7 separate regions of the Homo sapiens genome follow, and all the other regions are linked to region 7. The links are contacts of gene promoters, found by promoter capture Hi-C in blood cells and fetal thymus (Javierre and others, 2016). All regions are on one chromosome and are shown on one strand. Each heading gives the region's core, a stretch centred on a gene start or on the middle of the fragment in contact. The rest is flanking DNA. Distances are from core to core; before and after follow the strand shown.

Region 1 (3,134 bases), core at 338-2,837, 680 kb before region 7:
CATTAATAATAAAACAATATTCTTTTTGTATTTCATAATTTTTTTTTCTTTTGGAGAGAGAGTCTCGCCCCGTAGCCCAGGCTGGAGTGCAGTGGCATGATCTTGGCTCACTGCAACCTCTGCCTCCTGGGTTCAAGTGATTCTTGTGCCTCAGCCTCCTGAGTAGCTAGGACCACAGGCACATGCCACCATGCCTGGCTAATTTTTGTATTTTTAGTAGAAATGGGGTTTCACCATGTTGGCCAGGCTGGTCTCGAACTCTTGACCTCAGGTGATTCACCCACCTTGGCCTTCCAAACTGCTGGGATTACAGGCGTGAGCCACTGCACCCGGCCTGTATTTCATAAAATGTAACACTTGAATGCAATGATATCAATTCGGCTAAACAGAAAGTTCCTAAGATCATTTGATGTCTATCTTTTTGCCCAACTGATCAAGACAAATTTGTATTTAAATAGCAGTGTCCCTTAATCATAATATGTAAACAAAGTCACCAATGAGCATCTAGGATTAATGGAGAAGATCAGTGCCTTTGGCTTCAGAAAAACTGGGCTAGACCCCCAGTTCTGCTGCTAATGTGCTGTGTGATTTTGGCAGAACTCTTAATCTCTATGCATCTCAGTCTTCTCCCCTTTAGAAATGGGAGTAATTCTACCTTTTTCACAGAGTTGTTGGGATATAGTACATATAAAAATGCCTGTCATGATGCCTGGCATATTGTAGGTGCCTGATGAATGTTGAGTAAAGAAAACATGCTTTGGCAACAAATTTCTCTTCTCTTCTGACTTTCCCCAATTACAATGGCAGCTGAGTCATATTTTGGAGCCATTCTGAAGCCCAAGTTTCAGAAACAACAACAGCAGCAGCAGCAGCAGCAACAACAACATATGGGTAGCTTTGCTTTGCTCTAAGAGCATTGGATGAACTTCCAGTCTTGGTGTAAATGCCCTGGTAGAGTGAAGGCCCTGGTGTCTGAGGCTCAGCGTCCAGTCCTGGAGTTCACCATCCATTCCCAGGTGCCCTCCCTCTGCCCAGCCCTCTGGCTCCAGAGCGGACTGAAGGTCTCCCACATGCTTAAGGGGTCCAATTTTTAAGCCTCATTCACTGTGCTGTGTGAAGCAGGGATGGCAACTACAGCTCACAGGTCAAACCCCACTGCTACTTGTTTTGGTAAATCAAGTTTTATTGGAGCATAGCCACACCCATTCATTTCCCTGTTGTCTATGTCTGCTTTGTGCTACAATGGCAGAGCTAAGTAGTTGCAGTACAAAGAGAGTATACGACTTGCAAAGCCTAAAATATTTAGCATCTGTCTTTTTAACAGAAAAAGCTTGTCCATCTTGGTGCAGAGGAAACAGAATGTGCTAGGGGCCCTGGGACCAGTCCTGGCTCTGTATCTGACTTGCTTGGCATCCCTGGGGAGCTCACTGTCCTTCTCTGGTCTCTGAAGCACGAAAGGTTGAATTAGTACTTGGAAGTTTTCTTTAGTTCTAATAACTTAGCAGTCTTTGCTCTATTGCTCTTTAGGGATTCCTGAGGCTCTTATCAGAGAATTTTACTTTTTTGGGTATTGAAGGTCAGTGGAGAGGACGATTCATCTTAGAGCCAATGCCATTCCTAGAGAGAGGCCAGATAGTCACTCAAGGAACAAAGTCTAACTTTTCAATGGGGCATCTCTAAAGAGAAAACATTTAACATTTCTTTTCACAACAGAAGGCAGTAACAAGAAGTCCAAAGTCAGCCCTTTCTTTCATAAAGTGGGGAGCTACTTCTGAGGACTGAATAACTGCTGATGGGTTGTTCTGATGGCAGAACAAATGAGGATTCATTGGGGGAAAGCTTGTGTATCACATCTGCTCCTATGGCAGGTGAATAAAAGCTCTGGGTGAGGAAACACTCACACCTGAGCACCTGGCCCTTGTCACCAATCTGCAACTCAACTGTCTAGGACCATGGCTTCTAGTTAAAGCAGAAATCCCTGCTCCTCAAGCTTTGGCAAGAGCCATTTGAAGCCTCCTTGCTCCAGACAGGCTGTGGCCAGAAACCACTCTAGAAACTCTGTACCCAATGTCTGTAGATCCCAGTATTAAGACTGGGGCCCACCTGTAAGAGAGTCACCAACCTAGTAGCCATCTCCTTAGAACCTGTGGCTCACAGTCAGTCCAGCCTGGCCCTGCCAGCAGTCACTCTGCCTGTCCTCTGCCAGGGACCAGGAACATCCCTGCCAGTATGGGCACCTGTGGCTGGTTCAGTGAAGACATCCTCAGCAGCAGTGGGAAAGGGATCATGCAGTTCTTAAGTGAGTGCCTGGCCAACTGCTTGCAGAAGTTGCAGCAGTTGGAGCAGGAGAATGAGAAGCAGGGGTGGTGCTGAGAGCCAGCAGTGGAGCAAACGGCAGTGCCCTGACATATGCTCCAATTACTGCTCACACTTTGAGACCATTAAGGAGCTCCAACAAAAAGTAAGATGAGGCCTTGAGCTCTGGTGTCAGTGGCATGGAAAGAGAGGGCTGAGGATTGGTGATGGGAGAATTGGAGGGGTTGCCTGGGGGGATGACAGTCCATGAATGTTCATAAAGATGGATTGAAGGTGCCAGAAATAAACTGTGATGTCAAGGGCCCAACCACTTGGTTCTACAACCAGTTCCATTCAACAAGCATCATTGCTGATGTCTGCAATGAGAGGACTGTGAGTGGGATATGGATTTATTTCTTCACAATCCAGATCCTGCCTTATTTAAGGACATGCCACCATTCACTCACTAGTTATTGAGCACCAGCAATGAGTGATTGCATCGCTGGGTGCTGGGGAGCAGACAGTGCCTACAAAATGAAGCCTCAGCTCTTTAGCCTGGCATTCAAGGCTGCCATGTTCTCAGCCTCACTTTTTTTTGTAGCTTACCTCTTTCTAATCTTCTGCAAACATCCTGTGCTTCTATCAAACTGCTTTGTCACTTGCCCTATGCTTCTGTCAAACTGCGTTGTCACTCACAAAATGTTTGTTCACATGTGTAGTGCTTTCTTTCTCATCTTTGCATGGCCAAATTCTAGTTGGGCTTCAAAACCCAGGTGATATTCCCCACCTCCTGGAATCCTCTCTAGAAGCTAATCCCCCTGGGATGGATTTTGCCTTCC
Region 2 (3,105 bases), core at 500-2,999, 780 kb before region 7:
TAAGTTAGAGAGGTTAAGTAACTTGTCCAAGGTCACATAGCTTGTAAATGATCAAGCAAAGATATAATTCCAGTTTGGCCTGGCTCCAAAGCTGGTGCTCTGTTTCCTGTTCTCTATGGCCTTGAGCAATTATTGAGCCCCAAAAGAATACAGAGGCTAGCAAATCCCATAAGCAGAGGCTTGTCAAAAATACCTTATGTGGGCTGGGTGTGGCGGCTCATGTCTGTATTCCCAGCACTTTGAGAGGCTGAGGTAGGAGGATCACTTGAAGCCAGAAATTTGAGATCAGCCTGGGCAACAGAGCAAGACCCCGCATCTACCAAAAAAAGAAAAAAATATTGGACAGGCATGGTGGCATGCACCTGTTGTCCTAATTACTGGGTTACTTGGGAGGCTGAGGTGGGAGGATCACTTGAGCCCAGAAGTTTGAGGCTGCTGTGAACCATGATCATACCACTGTACTCCAGCCAGGGCAACAGAATGAGACTGTCTCTAAATTAAAAAAAAAAAAAGAAAAAGAAAAGAAAAAAAAAGGAAAGAAAAAAGGCTTACGTGGGAAGCAATGACTGTATGAAGAGCTGAGAATAAGACGAGTGACCTGGCACAGGTAGATTCTTTCCTGGGATCTCAGATTCCCCCTAGAAGGCCCTGGGTCTGTGCTTGTCAAAGGAAGGAATGGGTGAATGAGCAAACGGTGCAGGGAGGAGGATGACAGAGGAGGGTCTCTATTATTATTCATATCATTCTAACAGTCCGCAAATATCTACCCAAATCTCTAGAGCTTTGATCTCGAGTCCCCGCCCCTTGGAGTGTCCTGCTTGGTTGTGGAGGCTGCTGCTGCTGCTGCAGCCTCTTGGCTTCAGGCTCTGAAGCACTCCCCATCTCAGGCCCAAACAGGAATAAAATCAGTTCCTTTCTCTGTTCCTCTTACTAGACTGAGATCCACTGGGATTGTCTGAGGGAATTCTTGTGAAACCAGAAAGAAAGTTCAAGAAATGATGCAACAACAACAAAATAAAACCCAGGAGAAATAGTACGACAAGAAGTTAAAAGATCGTGAGGAGAGGTAAGGCCTGGTGGGTCCTCACCTGCCTGTTTTTGAAAATCTCGTATTGGAGTTCCTGTCTATTTTCATCCCCTCTTCAAGTCATTCATTCATTCATTCATTCATTCATTCATTCAACAGATCTTCACTGGGTGCCTATTCTGTGGCAGGGATTGGGAATAGATGGAATTGTGAGCAGAACAGACAAGGTCTCTGCCCCCATGGGCTCACAGTCTGGTGCCAGAGGCAGACAGGCAGACAGGCCAGTGCTGAGTGAGTGCCATCGGTGATGAGAGGGATGGGCTGTACTTTCAGATGGGGTCTCCTGAGCTGGCCATGGTGGCTAGGGAAGCTTCCTAGGATAGGCATGGGCCAGGAAGCTTCCATATGTCATTTTGTTGATTTCTCACAACTGTGTGAGGTTGCTCTTGTTGCTTCCATTTACAGATGAGGAAACTGAGGCTCAGAGAAGAAAAGTTCCTTGCCCAAGTCACCCACACCAGTGTTGATCTGGCTCCCTACCTCCTGCTCTTAGCACGACCTATCTGGCCTCTAACAATTTTTAACACTTTTTAAGATTGCGCTGTGGCCTCAATTTTCTCCAAGAGTTACCTTGATCTCTCCCCAGGAAGATCAAAGCTGTCGGAGAACACATGAGTATCAGAAGCAGAGTGTGGGTGCAGAGGGGTCCTGGGTGAATAACCCTGCAAGGACAGACAGTCCCTAAGGACGGCTCTGCACCCACATGCTGGGTGTGACACTCATGTGTCCTCCGATGGCTTTGATATTCCTGAGCTTTCTTCCCACCCGGGAATCCCTCAGTCTGTCTTTGCTGCTACCAGCACCCTCAGCCTCAGAGACATGCCATCCTCACCCGAACTCAGGCCAAACTCTCAAACATGATTCCTTTCATCTCTTGCCCTCACCATGACTCAGTCATGTTGGGGTTGTCAGAAGGAGCATTTGTCAAGATGGAGGGAAACCTCAGGGAAGTGAATCAACACCAAACCCATAAGAGTCAAGCTTGAGATTCAAAGGTGGGGTGTGTGTGGGGAGGAAGGTTAGCTTCCCCAAGTTCTCTGCTCATTGGGAGCCCCAAGTGGAGACTCTGCCTGTCATTGACCCCTTCATTCAATGGGTAATCACTGAGGGCCTACTCTGTGCCAGGCATGGGGCTAGTAGCTGGGGCTACTACAGTGACCCAGGCAGAGTCTGCCCCCATAGAGTCTTGTCGGAGAGACCAACAGGTAACAGCCACCTCCATACAGTATGCTGCATTCCATTAGGGGGAAGCCCAGGGACTCTGGGCCACACAGCAGAAACAACTAACACAGTCTTGGGAGGCAGGGAACATTCTTTGGAGAAAGTGTTGGGTCAACACACCAGGAAGATGTTGGATTTGATATTTGATATTTGGTGGAGGTGATATTTGGTGGAGGTGATATTCAATGGAGGTGGTGTGCATGTGTGTTTGTGTGTGTGTGTGTGTGTGTTTGTGTGTGTTGGGGGTGGGCAGTTCTGGGTAGGGGGAACTGCATCAGTGAAGGCCTGGAGGTGTGACTGAAAGTGGCCCACTGGAGGAGCTGGAACTTGAACTTCCTGGGGCTACTGTGCAGAGGGTGAGGAGGGGCTGAAGAGGGATGACGAGGTGCTGGTGGGAGTAGGCGGTCAGTCGTGGAGGACTTGCTCATGGTGGGGAGACTGAACTGTACCCCGAGAGCCACAGAGAAGCACATGTCCCTTTTGTTTTCACCTTTTTCTAGCCCTGCAGTGGAGGAGGAGAACCTGTTGGCCAGGAACTGCCAACAGCTTTTGTTCTGGATAAGCCCCTCGTGGAGGAGGACAAGGCAAGAAGATGGGTCTTCATCCTAACCCACGGAAGCAGCGCTGGACTGAGAAGCACCACCTGCGAAACTCCCAGCCCCACTGAGTAACCTCCAGGGCAGGGGCATGTCCCTGCTTACGAGCTCCCACCAGCCCGTCACACCCCCCCACCCACCTCAGAGGCTCCTGCCCCTGACCTGAGTGAGCTGTGTCTGAGTTGGGTCCCTCCTCCCTCC
Region 3 (2,782 bases), core at 67-2,566, 760 kb before region 7:
TTGAGGCATACCTCAATACTGGGTCAATAGCTCTAGCCTGATGGCCCACATGGTGGCTCCCACTCCAGCACCCCCTAAAGATCTTCCAGTTATTTCAGAAAGTCCCCAGGGGAATGCCTCGCATGTGCCCACAAGGTGGCTGCTGTCTTGCATAGAATACCCTCTGCTCTGCCACCAGCTGTAGCCCCACAGATCCACGCCACCACCTGGGAGAGCCTTGTTGTCTGTTGTGAGAACACCCAGGGGGGCCAACTTCAGATGCTTCCAGACGATGGATCCTTGGAGAACCAGAGTGGGAGGGCTTTCCTCAGGTGTAAGTCATCGGCTGCAAGGAGCTCTCCCTGTACTCAGACTCTTCCAAAGTTCTTCTTGTCCGTTTTGCCTTCTTGTTTCATAAAGAAGTAAAACTAGCCTGGCGGACCCAGGGGTGGGGGCACGAGGATGGAAACCCTTTCCAGGGTCTCTTTTCTCCTCACATCTAGTTCTCCCTCTTCCAAAACTTCCTCTCTCATTTCTCAATTCAAGGCTAGGGTTGGTGTGGATGAGCAGAGACAATGATGTCAGTGGTGAGTGCAGGGAGGGGAAGAGGGTATTGACTATATGAAATTTGGCTAGTTCTAAATGTCTGTGGTTTAGTGTTACTTAAGAAATTATTTACTTTAATTAACAAGAAATACTAAATACATTCTTATAAAACTTAAAACCATAGAGATTAAGCTTAGGTTCCTATTGGCTACCATCCTTCAATCAGATTCCTTCCTTACCTATGCATATATTCATACATATTCATATGGACCTTAGCAATAAGTCATCTTTTGAATGTATGTTGACATGAATTTATCATATTAAGTGTGTTGCTCTCCAACTAGATTTACTGTACCCAACAACTAGTTTTTTTTTTTTTTTCTTTTGAGATGGAGTTTCACTCTTGTCACCCAGGCTGGAGTGTAATGGCTCGATCTCAGCTCACTGCAAGCTCTGCCTCCCGGGTTCAAGCAATTCTCCTGCCTTAGCCTCCCGAGTAGCTGAGATTACAGGCACCCGCCGCCACGACTGGCTAATTTTTGTACTTTTAGTGGAGACGGGGTTTCACCATGTTGGCCAGGGTGGTCTCGAACTCCTGACCTCAGGTGATCCACCCACCTTGGCCTCCCAAAGTGCTGGGATTACAGGCGTGAGCCACCATGTCCGGCCCAATAACTAGTTCTTTAGGGTTTTCAGTGTCACTATTCATTGTCATTACTCATTCCATTTAATTTCTAGTCCTCCACAGCAGGATGTTACATAGTTACTGAACGCCTCCCCGCCATTAGTGATTGTTTGTGTCTTTGCACTGTAGCAAACAATGCTGCATAGGGCATCCTTTTATATGACTTCCTCAATACACGGGCCAGGGTTTCTTTCGGATGAACACGAAGAGTGGAACTGATGGCTCAAGAAGTGCATGAATGTTAAAAAAAATGATGACATTGTCAAATCGCTCTGCAAAGTGGTTACTACAACCCACCTCCCACCAATGTGTTTGAGGAGGTTCATTTACTCATGGCTTCTCTACACTTGACATCATCAAACGTTGTGAGCAGGCCAGTCTAATCAGGAAAAGTAAATCTCCTGTCTTCTCCTGAATTGGGGAGAGGTGGTCCCCTGGCTGCCTTAGTTGGGTAGGGGTCTGGGAGGGGGCCTGGTACTGTTGACAGAAACTTCCAGCCAGCCCTGCTTACGGTCCCTCTTCCACTTTTCCTCTCCATGTCTGTGGTGCCCCAATTCTTGAGCTTCTTTAGAGTATGTTGAGAATGTGCTTGCCTCTCACGGGCTTCCTGCTCTCTCCTCTGTTGACCCCTTCCTAATCCCCCAAACCCTGGGTCTCAGCTTTCTCTCATCTTCTGTGTTACCATTTTTGAGCTTTAAAGCTTTTGTTGACATTTCTCATCTTTGACCCTCCCTCCTTCCTTTCCTCCTTCCCTCCTTCTTTCCCTCCCCTCCTCCTTCCCTCCCTTCCTCCCTCCCTCCCTCCCTCCCTCCCTCCCTTCCTTCCTTCCTTCCTTCCTTTCTTCCTCCCTTCCAGCTGGGTCTTACTCTGTCACCCAGGCTGGAGTGCAGTGACGCAATCTTGGCTCACTACAGCCTCCACCTCCCAAGCTCAGGTGATCCTCTCACCCCAGCGTCCTGTGTAGCTGGTACTACAGGTGCACACAACCATGCCCAGCTAATTGTTTGCATTTTTGGTAGAGACAGGAGTTCGCCATGTTCCCTAGGCCAGTCTCAAACTCTTGAGCTCAAGCAGTCTGCCCGCCTCGGCCTTCCAAAGCGCTGGGATTACAGGCGTGTGCCACTGTGCCTCACCTCTTCTTCCATTCTCTTAAAATACTCCTTAACTGTCATATCATAGCAGGGTTTTAGGAAGGAGTCAAAATTGATGTAGCTATTGAACCTACCACATTTCACCAAAGCTAATACACTTCTATACACCCCCCTACCAGATTGTCAGCCTCTTAGAGGCAGGAAATATTTGTATTTACTTCTGTGCCCCAGCCCCTGGCAGCATGCGTAGCACAGAAGCTGCGCTTGATGCATGTTCACTGAATGAATGGAGGAGCGGGTGAGGAAGTTCCTTGTGCTGGTGGTCCCTGGGGAAGCGGAGGCCGTTCAGGTAAGGAGCTACTAATTGACAGGACATGCAAGCTCATGAAGTTTTCCACACATTTACCTTTCCTCTCCTCCAGATTATGAACAGAGCCTTCTGCTTTGCTCATGGACACGAGTCTGTCTCCTCTGCTAGGCT
Region 4 (3,203 bases), core at 276-2,775, 880 kb before region 7:
CACCAGGACCCCCGCATTACAGAGGCCTCTCTTGCAACAAGAAAGCTTGGAACTCATAGAGGTGTCCAGAACCTCCACATTCCAAATGATGGTATCATTCTTGGGGCAGGAGGGAAAGGAGGCAGAGCCTGTTCCCCACTCTCACTTTCCCAGATGCCACAGGGACCCAGACTCCCTGTGTCTCTCATATCCCGAGACGCAGACCCTGTCAGGGAAGGGGCATGTGGCAGCGGGGCAGGCATGCCTGTGCCAGGCTGGGGCCACCAAGCACTGGTGGCAGCATAGACCTTGGGGTCTCTCTGTGCACAGCAGGGCCACCAGCAGGGCCAGGGCAAAGGTCTTCATGGTGTGGGAACTGCTCATTCTCGCTCTCTCTGGCCGGGCTGCAAGGCAAGTGGTCCCTTCCCCTGCCCCGCCATCTTTTGGCCTCACCTTCCTCCCTCCCCATGGAAGGCCCACACTCCTGTGTTCCTTGTGGCACTGCCTGGTCACAATCTCAAGTCCTCTTCCTTTCTTCCCTACCTGCACCCCCCACCCCCTAATTCAAGCCTCGGCGTCTCCACCCTCCCCAAGCCATCCCTGCCCCATCAACGAGGGCCAGCTCTATGCCCCTGATGACCTGCCAGCCTCCTGAGCCAGGCTGTGCACTCTCTGACTGCCAGGCCAGCCTCTGTCCTGCTTCCCCTACTTCCTGCTCAGAGCCGGTCATGCTGAGGCTGCGATGGAGACCTGGGAGCAGGAGGCAGCAGGGGATTCCTTGGGCTGTGGCTCTCATCATTGCTGAGAGAGGGAGAAAGGGCCCGGCCATTCCTGACCACAGCCCTGGGCTCCTGCACTCAGCCGGGCACTCACTGCATGCCAGCCTCAGACAGGGCAGTAGGGCCGCCTGGATGTGTACTGAGCCCTTCCAGCCAGGGCTTCAAGGCCGGGTCACAACTCCCGGCTCAGTGCCCAACTCCTCAACCCCTCAGCATCCACCTGCCCAGCTCATGACAGGGAGGACAAAACAAAGGAGGCCCCTGTGGGACTACACAGGCCAGCTCCTGACACTATATAGGTGGGGAAACTGGGGCCCAGAGAGGGGCGGTGACTTGTCCAAATTCATGGGCCCAGAGCTGGGCTCCTAGGCCTCTCTCCCGGGCGGCCTGAGTTAGGCCGTGGTGCCGTCAGTCCCGGAAGGTTGGGACACCCACGGCAGTACCTGACTTGCCGGGGCCCAGCCTCCAGCCCACAGCCCTGCTTTGAGCAGCAAGGGAGGCTGCCCCGCCCCCAGCGTCTCCTCCTGCCTGACTGAGTTTCCCAGAGCCAGCAGAAAGGCAGGGCCGATGCAGGTCTGAATCCGCCCAGGGATCTGGCAGTCCCAGCTGGCTTGCCCTGCCCTCGAGCCCTGGGAGCGGGAAGTGAGCCTCCCCACCTCAAATCCTCCACCTTCCCTGCCACCCACACCTTCAGCCCGGGGCCCAAACATGGCAGGGAGCCAGGCCCCTCACCTCCCTCCTTGGTAACCGAGGCAAACACCCAACACTGGAGACTGTTTGTCCTGCCAACGCTGCACCCCAACCTGAGCCCAGACGCCCTGCCGCAGTTGGGAGAAGCCTGGCTGGGGGAGGGGACGTGGCAGGGGCAGCCAGAACCTGTGGGCTTGGGGACCCTTCCCCTCCACTCCAGTTCCCCAGGAGCTTCTGAGTGAGCACAGGGCAGCGGGGCTGTTGTCTCAGCACCTTTGACTGTGAGGCCCCCAACCTCAGCCTCTGCTCCACCCCTAAGACTGTGCGCCCGGAAGGTGGAGAAGGGCTGGCTGGGGTGAGAGGGTCTGTGCTTGAACTACAGCAGAGAAAGAGAGCAGAGGGAGAAAGTTCTCTCTGGCCAGCCCAGCTGTGGGAGGGCTCAGGGAGGGAGGCCAGTGGGCCCTTTCTTTGCAGGCAGGGAGGGATGGGAGATTCTACCAGCGCCAGACCTGGGGGGCTCTGCCTCCTGATCCCCAGGGTCTGGGTGGGCACCGTGAGGCACTCCAGCGTCGCGTTTGGGGGCTGGCTGGGTGGGCAAGGAGGTGGATGTCAGGGCCTGGGGAGGCTGGGGTAAGGTGGCGCCAGGAGGGGACGGGCAGTTTTTCTGGCCTTCACTGGCCTGTGGTTTCCGCAGTGCAGGGCATGGGACTGTGGGGCGATGGAGCAAGGAGGATGGAGTTTCTGTCCCTGGGAAGCCTCTTGTCTGAGGGGAGACATGCCCCGAGCCTTCAGGGACCGCCTAGTCGGAGGGGGAGACACAGCCCTTGTCCTGGGGAGTTTGGAATAACCGTATTGGGGCCAGGGACAGAGGATGATGGAGTCACCCTGCTCTGCATGGAGCACGGGACCACCCGGCCTCACGGGGCTGGGCAGACGCTTCTGTTTCTTCTGCATGGAGCACGGGATCACCTGGCCTCATGGGGTTAGGCAGACGCTTCTGTTTCTTAGGAAGAGGTCTGTTTGCTTCTCAAATGCTTCCCGGGAACCTCCTCCACCACTGCAGCCCTGCACTGTGGGCAGGAATGTCACTAGCCCCCTTTTACGGATGAGGAAACTGAGGCTCAGGCATCTGGGAAAATGTGCTGTGGGCAGCCCCCCCGGACAGAGCTGTGCTGGCACCCTCCAGACAGTGCAGGAGAAGGGCAGGTCCCACAGAGTCCCTGCTGTTCCCCCAAGTCCTGAGGCCAGGGGGTGCTGTCTCTACTCTCAGTCCCCTGCCAGGACCTGTCCCCTGGTTCAATCCCAGGCAGGCCAGCGGGGAGGGTGGGGTGGGAGACTTGGTTCTGCTGAGGCTGCAGCTTCCCTGGCCCACCTAGGCTGAGTCAGGGCTGGGCAGGAGCCGAGGGCAGCAGCTTTCCCAGGGCCAGCCCGGGCGGCGTCCGCATTCCTCACTTGCAGGGTGCGTCTGGGCTTGGCTGAGCCAGGTGTGCTGTGCCCCACCCAGGCCCCCGCCTGCAGCTGAGCCAGCTCAGCGCTGGGGCCTTGTAAGGAAGCTTCTGGCAGCCACCAGGAACGGGGTGTGGGAACTGCTTGGCTTGCATGTCCTTGCTGGGTGGGGTGCAGGCTGGGGGAGATCAGCCTGCTAGAGCCCAAGCTCCCACAGTGGCCAGGGCAATTGGGGTGCCCACTCCTCACCCCCTCCTCACACTCTGCTCTTGCCTCTGCAGTTGGAGAGCTGGAGGCCGAGGCCCCAGG
Region 5 (3,069 bases), core at 215-2,714, 860 kb before region 7:
CAGCCTGCGGATCATGCTGCTCTTTTGCAGGGGCCGTTCCTCGGGGCATGACGCTGGCTCCTGCACAGATCCTGCTCCTCTGTGGCCTTCCTGGGCTGCCCTCCCCTCCTCCGGGACTGCTCTGGACTGACATTGCTCAGGTTCGGGTGAGGAGGGAGGCTGCCCTAACCCTTTGGCCTCAGACCCCTGCTCCCAGCCCCACCTCTGCTTCCTGTTTTGTTAGAGCCTTACTGACGTCATTATCTCTCCAGATTCCCTCAAAGACTTTGGGAGACAAGACTTGGTCCCCCTTTTACAAACGAGGGAACGGAGGCTCTAGAACTGACTTCCTGAAAGGCTTGGATCCAAAGCTCCCTCAGTTCAGCGGCCACGTCTATTTCCCTCAGACACAGGGATCCTTGAACCTGTGGGCTGTATCTCCCCGCGGACTTGGAAGAATCCCAAGAGAGTGGGGCTCCCACAGGTCAGAGGCTAATTCTGCCTCCTCTGACTGGGAGTCTCCACCAGGGCCACGTTGTACCTGGGCAATGATGTCAGGCCCCGATCTCTCCACCCTTACCCCAGGGCCCTGGAATGCTGGGTGAGGGGCCAGGCCAGCCTCCGGCTCCTGGCCTGTGCAGCCTTGTCCTGTGCCCGTGCTGGCTCCCAGGGCTGGGTTCTCCGGGCTCCCCACAAGAATAAGCTCAGCCTCCTAACTGTGGCTGAGGATGGAGGGTCACCCTACCCCAGGGCTACAGACCAGCACCACCTTTGTTTCTTTCTTTCTTTTTTGAGACAGATTTTTACTCTTGTTGCCCAGGCTGGAGTGCAATGGTGTGATCTCGGCTCACTGCAACCTCCACCTCCCAGGTTCAAGCTATTCTCCTGCCTCAGCCTCCTGAGTAGCTGGGATTACAGGTTCGTGACACCACGCCCAGCTAATTTTTGTATTTTTAGTAGAGATGGGGTTTTGCTATGTTGGCCAGTCTGGTCTCAAACTCCTGACCTCAGGTGGTTCACCTGCCTCTGCCTCTCAAAGTGCTGGGATTACAGGCGTGAGCCACCGTGCCTGGCCACCACCTTTGTGTCTGAACAGACCGCTGAGGCCCTGGTGCTCAGGCTGGGCTCTTGCTATGGAGGGGTCCTTGGGGAGGCTCTCAATATGTCCAGCCTGAGCCCCAGGCCCTGGGTGGGTGGGAGGAGGCAAAATACACTCCTGGGGTTTTGGCCTGAACTTCAAGGGCCAGGGTCCCAGCCCCACTTCAGCCCGGCTGTAACGGGCTACCCAGGGTCTCCATCCAGACCAGACTCTTCACCCGACCCATGGACACCCTGGTTGTCACCACTACCAGCATCTGCCAGTTCTCCACCTCTGGCTCTGTCAAGGGCCTGTGGACACCTGGCGGGGGTTTCTCCTGGATGTCATCTGTCAGTGTTGGGGGTGCCTTTCGCCAGCCTCCTGGGAGTCAGCAGCTGTGGCAACATGTCGGTCACCTCCTCCTGCTTCTTGGTGGGACTTGGGGGAGGCTACAGCGGTGGCTACACCTGTAACCTGGGTGGGGGCTTTGGCTCCAGCGTTGACGTGGCGGATGCCCTGCTGCGGGGGCGGTGAAAAGACCATGCAGAACCTTACTGACCACACACACAGCACACACATACACACAAACACCACACACAACCACACACACACATACACACACACAAACACCACACACACCACACACACCATCACACACATACACACAAACACCACACACACACCACACACGTACACACACAAACACCACACACACCCCACACACATCACACACATACACACACAGAAACACCACACACACACCACACACAGCACACACGTACACACACACAAACACCACACACCATACACATCACACACTACCCCAAACGCCACGCGCCCCACTCACACCTCACACTCCCAGATTCACACACAGGCGCATGCCCACCGATCGATACACACACACTAAAAGACTCCTATATACACATTCACACATAGCTCACAGGCACATCCACATACACACATACTACATACACACACACATACCACACACCTACACATATACCCACCACACCCCCAACACCCCCTCCACACATATTAGTCACACACCCCCCCAAACCCCCCACACCCTCTCCAACACATATACACACCCACCCAAACATACCACACACCACACACACACTCATACACATCACACACTACACAAACATCACACACATACACACCACACACACCACACATACACGCGCACGTACACGCACACACACCACACACACACCACACACATCAGAGACACACAGCACACACACATCACACACATATACACACACAAACACCACACAGACCATACACATACACACATACACGCCACACACACATCACGCACACACCACATATACATCACAGACACACGCAAACACCACACACACACTCCAAACACATCACACACATACACAAACACCACACACACCACACACATACTCACCATACACACCATAGATACATCACACACACACTCACCACACACACCACACACACATACACATACACACAGACACCACACACACACCCCACACCACACATGCCACACATATTCCACACGCACCACACACATACACACTACACACACACCATACACATATATACCCACAACCACCCATGTACCACACACCACACACACCACACGCATATACACACCACACACACAATACACACAGATCTCACACACACATACACACCACACACACATATACACCACACCACATGCATACCACACACCACACACACCACATACACACATACTACATACACATAAACACCACACACATCACACACCACACACCACACACACATCACACACCACACACACACACACATACACACACACTCTCTCTCATGACCTCTAAGAACATGGCTTTGGCATTCTGTAAACATGGCCACTTTGTCTTCTGCACAAACCCTGCCCTGGAGGGTCCTACAGAGCAAAGCCACCAGTGGCAGGTGAGGAGTGCAAGTGATGAGTATGGTGGCCAGGGGGGCCAGGGGAGCCAGGGGAGGCAGGCGGGAGTCAGGTT
Region 6 (3,189 bases), core at 621-3,120, 630 kb before region 7:
CCCTCAAGGTGTCCCAAGTGCTCCATTTTCTCTCTTCTGTTGCCTCCTGATCTCTCTGAGATGGGGCAGGCACTTTTGTTTTTATTTTGCTATTAAACTTCGCTTCTGCAGCAGAATGAGCCCAGTGCAGTCCAGCCTCAGCATCTCCGTCCCATGCTGAGAGCCTTGCTGGGAACTCCTTGAGCCACATGCTTCTGTAGACGGGGGTTGTGGCTGGCTCGCCAGAGTGGTTCTGGGAGATGGCAAAGCCAGTGAAGGCTAGAGTTAAAAATGGGACTGCGGCAAAGTGGCACAGAGGAGAGATACCCAACCTTGGACCTCACCAAGTGTATTTGGAGACAGATTTACAGATAGAGCTTTTAAAATATAGACGCTAAGTAAAATTTCCCTTTTATCTGGATAAGCCACCTGGTCCTTGTGTAAAGGAAGAGCTCAAATCTGCGGCACCACAGACCGTTGCAAAACTCTGAAAATATTAACTGATGGTAATCGCCATCAGTCTAGAAAGGCCCAAACAACCTGACCCGTCCAAGCTCCCCAGTAAGCTCCACTGGTAAGTCCTGGCAGCTGTCTGGCTTGGAATTTGTAGACAGTAGAACATGAATCAGAAGCCCCAGAACAGGTAACTTAAATTGAGCTTTTAGGATGACATGCCCATTATGAACAAGGCACTGGCTGGGGCTTCGCCGACATTGTGTCACAGGGCACCACATCAGCCCTGCAAAGAAGAAGCAGCTGTTATTATTCTCAGTTGGTTACTGAGTCAAGACTTGAAACCTAGTCTCTTTGAACCAGATCCAAAGCCCGTTCTTTGGAAGCTTTGAGGGGGAAACAAATTAAACATGAGAAGGTTTAGGACAGTGGTTCTTAAAGCGTGGTCCGCCAGCAGGTAGCACTGGCATTACCTGAGAACTTGCTAGACATGCACATTCTTGAGCACCACCCCTGACTTACTGAACCAGCATTCTGCTTTAGCATGACTTGCAGGTGATTCTGATGTTGGTTCAAGTTTGAGAAACACTGGGTTAGGAAGTTTATTTGAGGAATGAGCCCTTGACTAGCTAGACCCTCTACAGAAAGGGCTGGCCTTGCCGTCCTGATATGTCCTCCAGTGAGGAATCCCTCATACCATCAGATCAGGATAGAGCCTTTCTCTTTTACATTGCAAAACTCTGAAAATGTTACATGATAGTTATTTCTATCAGTCTAGAAAGGCCCAAACAAGCTGACCCATCCAACCTCCCCAGTAACCCCCATTGGTGAGTCCTTATGGCAACTGTCTGTCTTGGAATTTGCAGATGGTAGAACATGAATCAAAAGCTCCATATTTTGATAGCCGTGGCTGAGAATCAGCACATCTCCAGAATTCAGCATCACAGCTGGCCAGAGAAGAGAAGCAGTGAGTTCCCTATCCTTGGAGACAAGCAGAGGCTTCAGAATCACTGATGGGGATGTTGAGGGGAACACTTAGGGAACTGATGGGGCTGGTTGAGATGGCTGTAGCCCCCCTAACTCTGTGCGTCCCTGCTTTCTATGTCTTATTGATCAGTGAAACCACAGGCATTGAAGTGGAACCACCAAATCTACTTTAGGAGCTGGTTTTGGTCTTCCCTTTCCCTCTGTGAATTCTCTGAATCACTGTAGTTTGCTGAAAAATTTACAAGTACAGCTGGTTCTGGTTTAATCCAGGTCTTCCTGATACAGCGGTGTGGTGCTGGAGTGACCACAGTCCCGAGCCCCAAGGCTGGAGGGAGCTTAAGTGAGAATCTTGTTGCTCTGCCTCCAACTGCTCTCAAGCCCAGCGTCCTACTTGTTGGTCACTGCTCATGTACATAGGACTGATCTGCTTGAGAGACACTGGGATTTCCAGCATAGGAAGCCCAAGAAGGGTCAGAGGCTGCCACGCCCTCCCCTCCTCTGTTCTTTTTCTCAAGTGGTAAAACTGTTTTGGCACACGTGACACACCCCTTGGGCACCTACCCAAGAGAAGCTCTCAATAATGAAGAGCCATCTCGATTAGTCTTAATTTAGTACCTGACCCAGCTGCCCTCATCTCCTTTGTACTTAAATAGCTCCTTTCATCCAACAAGTTCAAAGCTGTCTAACAAAATAAACCCACTTATTCTTGCACCATGACGGCACAGGCAAGCATTGTCCTTCCCATTTAAGGGAGAGAGAGAGAAGGTGAGTCATTCAGTGGTTAAGGGATTCTGCTGGTGACATAAAGTGAGTCAGTGGGGCCCCAGGGTGATTGACCTGTGTTTCTTAAGTTCACATCCAGTGCTCTCTCATTTCTAATTAAAAGATTAGCTTTGATGAGACAGTACATGTGTGTGTGTGCACGCACATCTGTGTGTTTGTCGTGTGTGAAGAGTTTCCCTGGAAACCACAGAGGTCATCATTACCATCACCATCACCAGAATCATCATCATCATCATCATCAAATCATATAGCTTCACCATCATCATCATTGTCATAGAACCATATATCCATCAAGCTCTTACTATGAGCCAGGCGCTGGTCTAAATTATAGCTACAGTCATATGGGTAAACTCATTTAATCATTACAACAATCCTAGAAAGCCAATGCTATGGTTTTCTCATTTTGCAGACAAGTAGCCAAGACTCAGAGAGGCTAAGTAACATGCCCAAGGTCACACAGCTATTAGGTGGTGAAGCCAGGATTCAGATCCAAGCAGCCTGCCTCCAGCAACTGTGCTCTTAACTACTGTGCTTTACAGAGGCCAAGTCTCAGATTTTGTCAAAAGGATGATAGAATCATAATGACCCCATTGTTTTGATTCCTTTCCTTGAAGGAAATGAGTATGTTTATGTTAGAAGAAACGTTTCTGAGAATTTATGCCACAAAGGGTGGTACAAGGAATAAAAGTCCTTTAGTATCTCACAGGATCTTGAAGCTTGAGGACTCTGGCAATTTTAATAAACTAGGAGTTGACAAAGAAGCTCAACTCACTTCCTGCCATTTTAAAACCACCTTGTCTATTGAGAAAGAGGAGGAGGGAAACAGAATCCCTATAGATGTTCATTGTTTCACCATTTACAAAACACTTGTTAAAGTACTTTGTGTTGTATCCAAATGGAGGCCCCAAACAACCTTGAGAGAGGGGAACAGACATCACAATCCCCATCGTGCAGTGGGAGAAGTACAGGTGTAGGGAGGTGAAATGC
Region 7 (2,919 bases), core at 198-2,697:
TGATGGTCCAGTTATAGCTCTGTATTTATTATTTATTTTTAAATATTTTTGATTTAGAAAATCCATGCAGTCCACTAAATGTTCCATACGATTTAGTGACAATAATGTTGGATGTTTTCCAAAGGATTCACTATCCACAACATTGAAAAATATCATTCGGAAGAAAATTACTGTTTCAAAACTAAACCCATAATTAGTTAACCAATCAATTTGTATCATTATAGGTGATAGAGACCCGACCCTGTCTGACATGTCCACTTTATTATAATAATTTAAATAATTAACATTTAAAAATGTTTGTGCCTTTCAAACTGTCTTATCGTCATTCATGATTGGAACTGCTCAACATTCATTTGAGACTCTTTGATGCTATTATTTTCATTTGCCCAGTAGGGAAATGATCCAAGCCTGGATAACTTCCCAAGAGCATCAAGGCAAGAGAATAAAGAGTACTTCCCTGTGACAACTTATCTTCTCTCTAGGGTACTATAAGTACTGGTTTTCTAGGTAATGATGAAAACACCTCCCTCCTTATATATTTTACTCCTTGCTAATCAATATGATGCTCACTTCTCAAAATAATTCCTAATGTCTTAAATACATACATTTAAACTAAAAGACAGTAAACACTATTTAGGGGTAGGGAAGTGAACAATTTGGAGACTGTTAGTTGAATTGATGTCCTGCTCCTGGACCAAACCAAGAAATCTCAATCGAATTAATTCTCCACCATCATCACATATTCATGAATTATATTGAAATTAACAATAAGCAGGACTGCAGGATTTCTATTACTTCAGTTTTCAATTCAAGAAATGGTAGATTTCTTTTAAAATCTCCCACTACCAAAAGATCAATAGATGCTGAGATTTTCTGGTTTTGATAAGAAGGAAAACACACACCCAGACACCCAGGGCAGTGGCTCACACCTGTAATGCTGGCCACAGGAGGCTGAGCTGGGTGCTGAGGCTGAGGATCACTGGAGGCCAGGAGTTCGAGACCAGCCTGGGAAACATAGCGAGACCACATATCTTTAAAAAAAGGAAAAAAGAAAAAGAAACGAAAGGAAGAAAGGAAGCACTCAATGAAGTGGGAATACTAGAAATACTCTATGAGCGTTAACAGGACAAAAGTAGGAGACATTTCTCATTGGAATTATTAATTCTTTGTTATATGTGGCAGGGGGAGAATCTAGATTCTATTAATATTCCAGTGGCCAAAAAGATGCACATTTAGTCATATTTAATTTTGGCCTTTGAGGCTATGATTTAGTTTTACTTCACCTGGCACCATTTTTATATATAAAAAATATCCTTGGGGCACCTTTCCACCTACAGACTGGACGCTGTTAAAAATTACCCAATTGTGAAAAACAACAATTAGGATGCAAGTAAATTTTATTACAGACTGGCATAGTCAAGACTGAAATGACCCAGTGAATACTATAAAAGGCCAAGGGAGCTAACAAGTGTGGAAGGTGAACCCTGGCTTTGCTCCTCTTTCTGGGAAGGGGTTGCCCGGCTGTGCTGCCACCATGTCTTTTCGACTTTCTGGTGGATCCAGGAGGATCTGCTCGCGAACTGGGTCTGGTAGGCTGTCCGGTGGAGGAACAGGCTTCGTGGCTGGGAATGTGTGTGTTGGATCGGGAGCAAGAAGCAGCTTTTCTTGTACTCTTGAGGGCATCTCTTCTGGAGGAAGCTTCTGCAATAGCGGTGGAGGGTTGGGAAGTGGTGCCTGTGCTGGTTTTCTTGGCAATGAGCACAGCCTCCTCTCTGGGAATGAAAAGGTGACCATGCAGAATCTCAACGACCGCCTGGCATCCTACCTGGACCATGTGCATGCTCTAGAGGAGGCCAACGCAGACCTGGAGCAGAAGATCAAGGGCTGGTACGAGAAATGTGAGCCTGGCTCTTCCCGGGAACACGATCATGACTATAGCAGATACTTCTCAGTCATAGAAGATCTTAAAAGGCAGGTAAGAAATAGGGATTTGCATACTTTTACTACAGACTTTGTGTGTTGATAATTTAAAGAAGAGAAAATATAAAATGTGCCTAACAAATTTATGTGATGTAAGATTTGTTCACTCTGTATTTCCAGTGCTAAGCACAGTACCTGGCAATAAAATCTTGTAGAATTAAATAATGAAAAAGAAATCATTTCAAAACAGATATAGTCACTTCGTTTTTCATATATTTAGCTCATACCATTTGATCAAAAGTAGTAAAAGTATCTATGTGGCTCTTAAGCTCTGGATGCTTATTATCTGAAGAAAATCCAGATTTCTTTAACATAGAAAAAAGATACTAAAACAGATGTTTGACAGATTAAGAAGATATAAAATCACACTGAAGTCTGGAGCCTCCTTTGACTTTTGGTAATTAACATTTTTCACAATCTTCCCTATTTAGATTATTTCTGCGACCATCTGCAATGCCAGCATTGTTCTACAAAATGACAATGCCAGACTGACCGCTGATGACTTCAGGCTGAAGTAGGTGAAAACAAACTGATTAATTATATTAATAAAAGTTAAAATATTACAATTGGATTAAGGAATATATATTTTGCTTTGAAAACCAAAATGTTTTTCTAAAGCCAGACTAGATCAATAAAGAAATTGAATTAAATAAGCCGTTATAAAAAGAGCTATCATGGTTGGATAGAGTAGCTCATGCCTGTAATCCCAGCACCTTGGGAGGCTGAGGCAGGCAGATCACTTGAGGTCAGGAGTTTGAGACCAGCCTGGCCAATGTGGCAAGACCCCGTCTCTACTAAAAGTACACACACAAAAAAATAGTCAGGCATGGTGGCTCACTCCTGTAATCCCAGCTACTTGGGAGGCTGAGACATGAGAATCACTTGAACCCGGAAGGTGGAGGTTGCAGTGAGCTGAGATGGGGCCACTGCACTTCAGTC

The links. The method cuts DNA at HindIII sites, captures the fragments that hold promoters and counts their contacts. A CHiCAGO score of 5 or more calls a contact.
Region 1: a contact is called between a fragment that was not itself captured here and the fragment with the promoter of KRT26 in region 7, in 2 of 17 cell types (erythroblasts and M2 macrophages). The highest score is 5.4, in erythroblasts.
Region 2: a contact is called between a fragment that was not itself captured here and the fragment with the promoter of KRT26 in region 7, in 6 of 17 cell types (M0 macrophages, M2 macrophages, naive CD4 T cells and 3 more). The highest score is 7.8, in M0 macrophages.
Region 3: a fragment that was not itself captured here is called in contact with the fragment with the promoter of KRT26 in region 7 in 4 of 17 cell types (M2 macrophages, M1 macrophages, megakaryocytes and 1 more); the score reaches 7.4 in M2 macrophages.
Region 4: a contact is called between a fragment that was not itself captured here and the fragment with the promoter of KRT26 in region 7, in 7 of 17 cell types (activated CD4 T cells, M0 macrophages, naive CD4 T cells and 4 more). The highest score is 8.7, in activated CD4 T cells.
Region 5: a fragment that was not itself captured here is called in contact with the fragment with the promoter of KRT26 in region 7 in 7 of 17 cell types (activated CD4 T cells, naive CD8 T cells, total B cells and 4 more); the score reaches 8.5 in activated CD4 T cells.
Region 6: a fragment that was not itself captured here is called in contact with the fragment with the promoter of KRT26 in region 7 in 1 of 17 cell types (M0 macrophages); the score reaches 5.5 in M0 macrophages.

Annotation. Positions count from the first base shown.
Region 1 is chr17:41,453,094-41,456,227 of GRCh38, reverse strand. No RefSeq gene overlaps it. Among named protein-coding and RNA genes, the nearest start is that of KRT32, 13 kb to the left of the region's middle. The HindIII fragment of the contact is 509 bases long and covers 1,333-1,841 here.
Region 2 is chr17:41,552,241-41,555,345 of GRCh38, reverse strand. LINC00974 (long intergenic non-protein coding RNA 974) reads left to right here and starts at 851. Exons shown (of 3, transcript NR_038442.1): 1 at 851-1,066; 2 at 2,809-3,105. RefSeq lists an enhancer at 2,531-3,031. The HindIII fragment of the contact is 643 bases long and covers 1,428-2,070 here.
Region 3 is chr17:41,532,495-41,535,276 of GRCh38, reverse strand. No RefSeq gene overlaps it. Among named protein-coding and RNA genes, the nearest start is that of KRT19, 5.6 kb to the right of the region's middle. The HindIII fragment of the contact is 1,193 bases long and covers 720-1,912 here.
Region 4 is chr17:41,654,006-41,657,208 of GRCh38, reverse strand. It overlaps LOC124904004 (a long non-coding RNA gene), which reads left to right and starts at 2,075. Exons shown (of 2, transcript XR_007065756.1): 1 at 2,075-3,203. RefSeq lists enhancers at 2,264-2,960, 2,961-3,203. The HindIII fragment of the contact is 2,956 bases long and covers 48-3,003 here.
Region 5 is chr17:41,632,364-41,635,432 of GRCh38, reverse strand. It overlaps the pseudogene KRT42P. Among named protein-coding and RNA genes, the nearest start is that of KRT17, 9.3 kb to the right of the region's middle. The HindIII fragment of the contact is 4,882 bases long and covers 1-3,069 here.
Region 6 is chr17:41,403,133-41,406,321 of GRCh38, reverse strand. All of the region lies in intron 1 of LOC100505782 (a long non-coding RNA gene), which reads right to left. Among named protein-coding and RNA genes, the nearest start is that of KRT31, 7.1 kb to the right of the region's middle. RefSeq lists an enhancer at 1,433-2,632. The HindIII fragment of the contact is 2,100 bases long and covers 821-2,920 here.
Region 7 is chr17:40,770,729-40,773,647 of GRCh38, reverse strand. KRT26 (keratin 26) reads left to right here and starts at 1,447. Exons shown (of 8, transcript NM_181539.5): 1 at 1,447-1,975; 2 at 2,412-2,494. The coding sequence starts at 1,535. The HindIII fragment of the contact is 2,390 bases long and covers 1-1,700 here.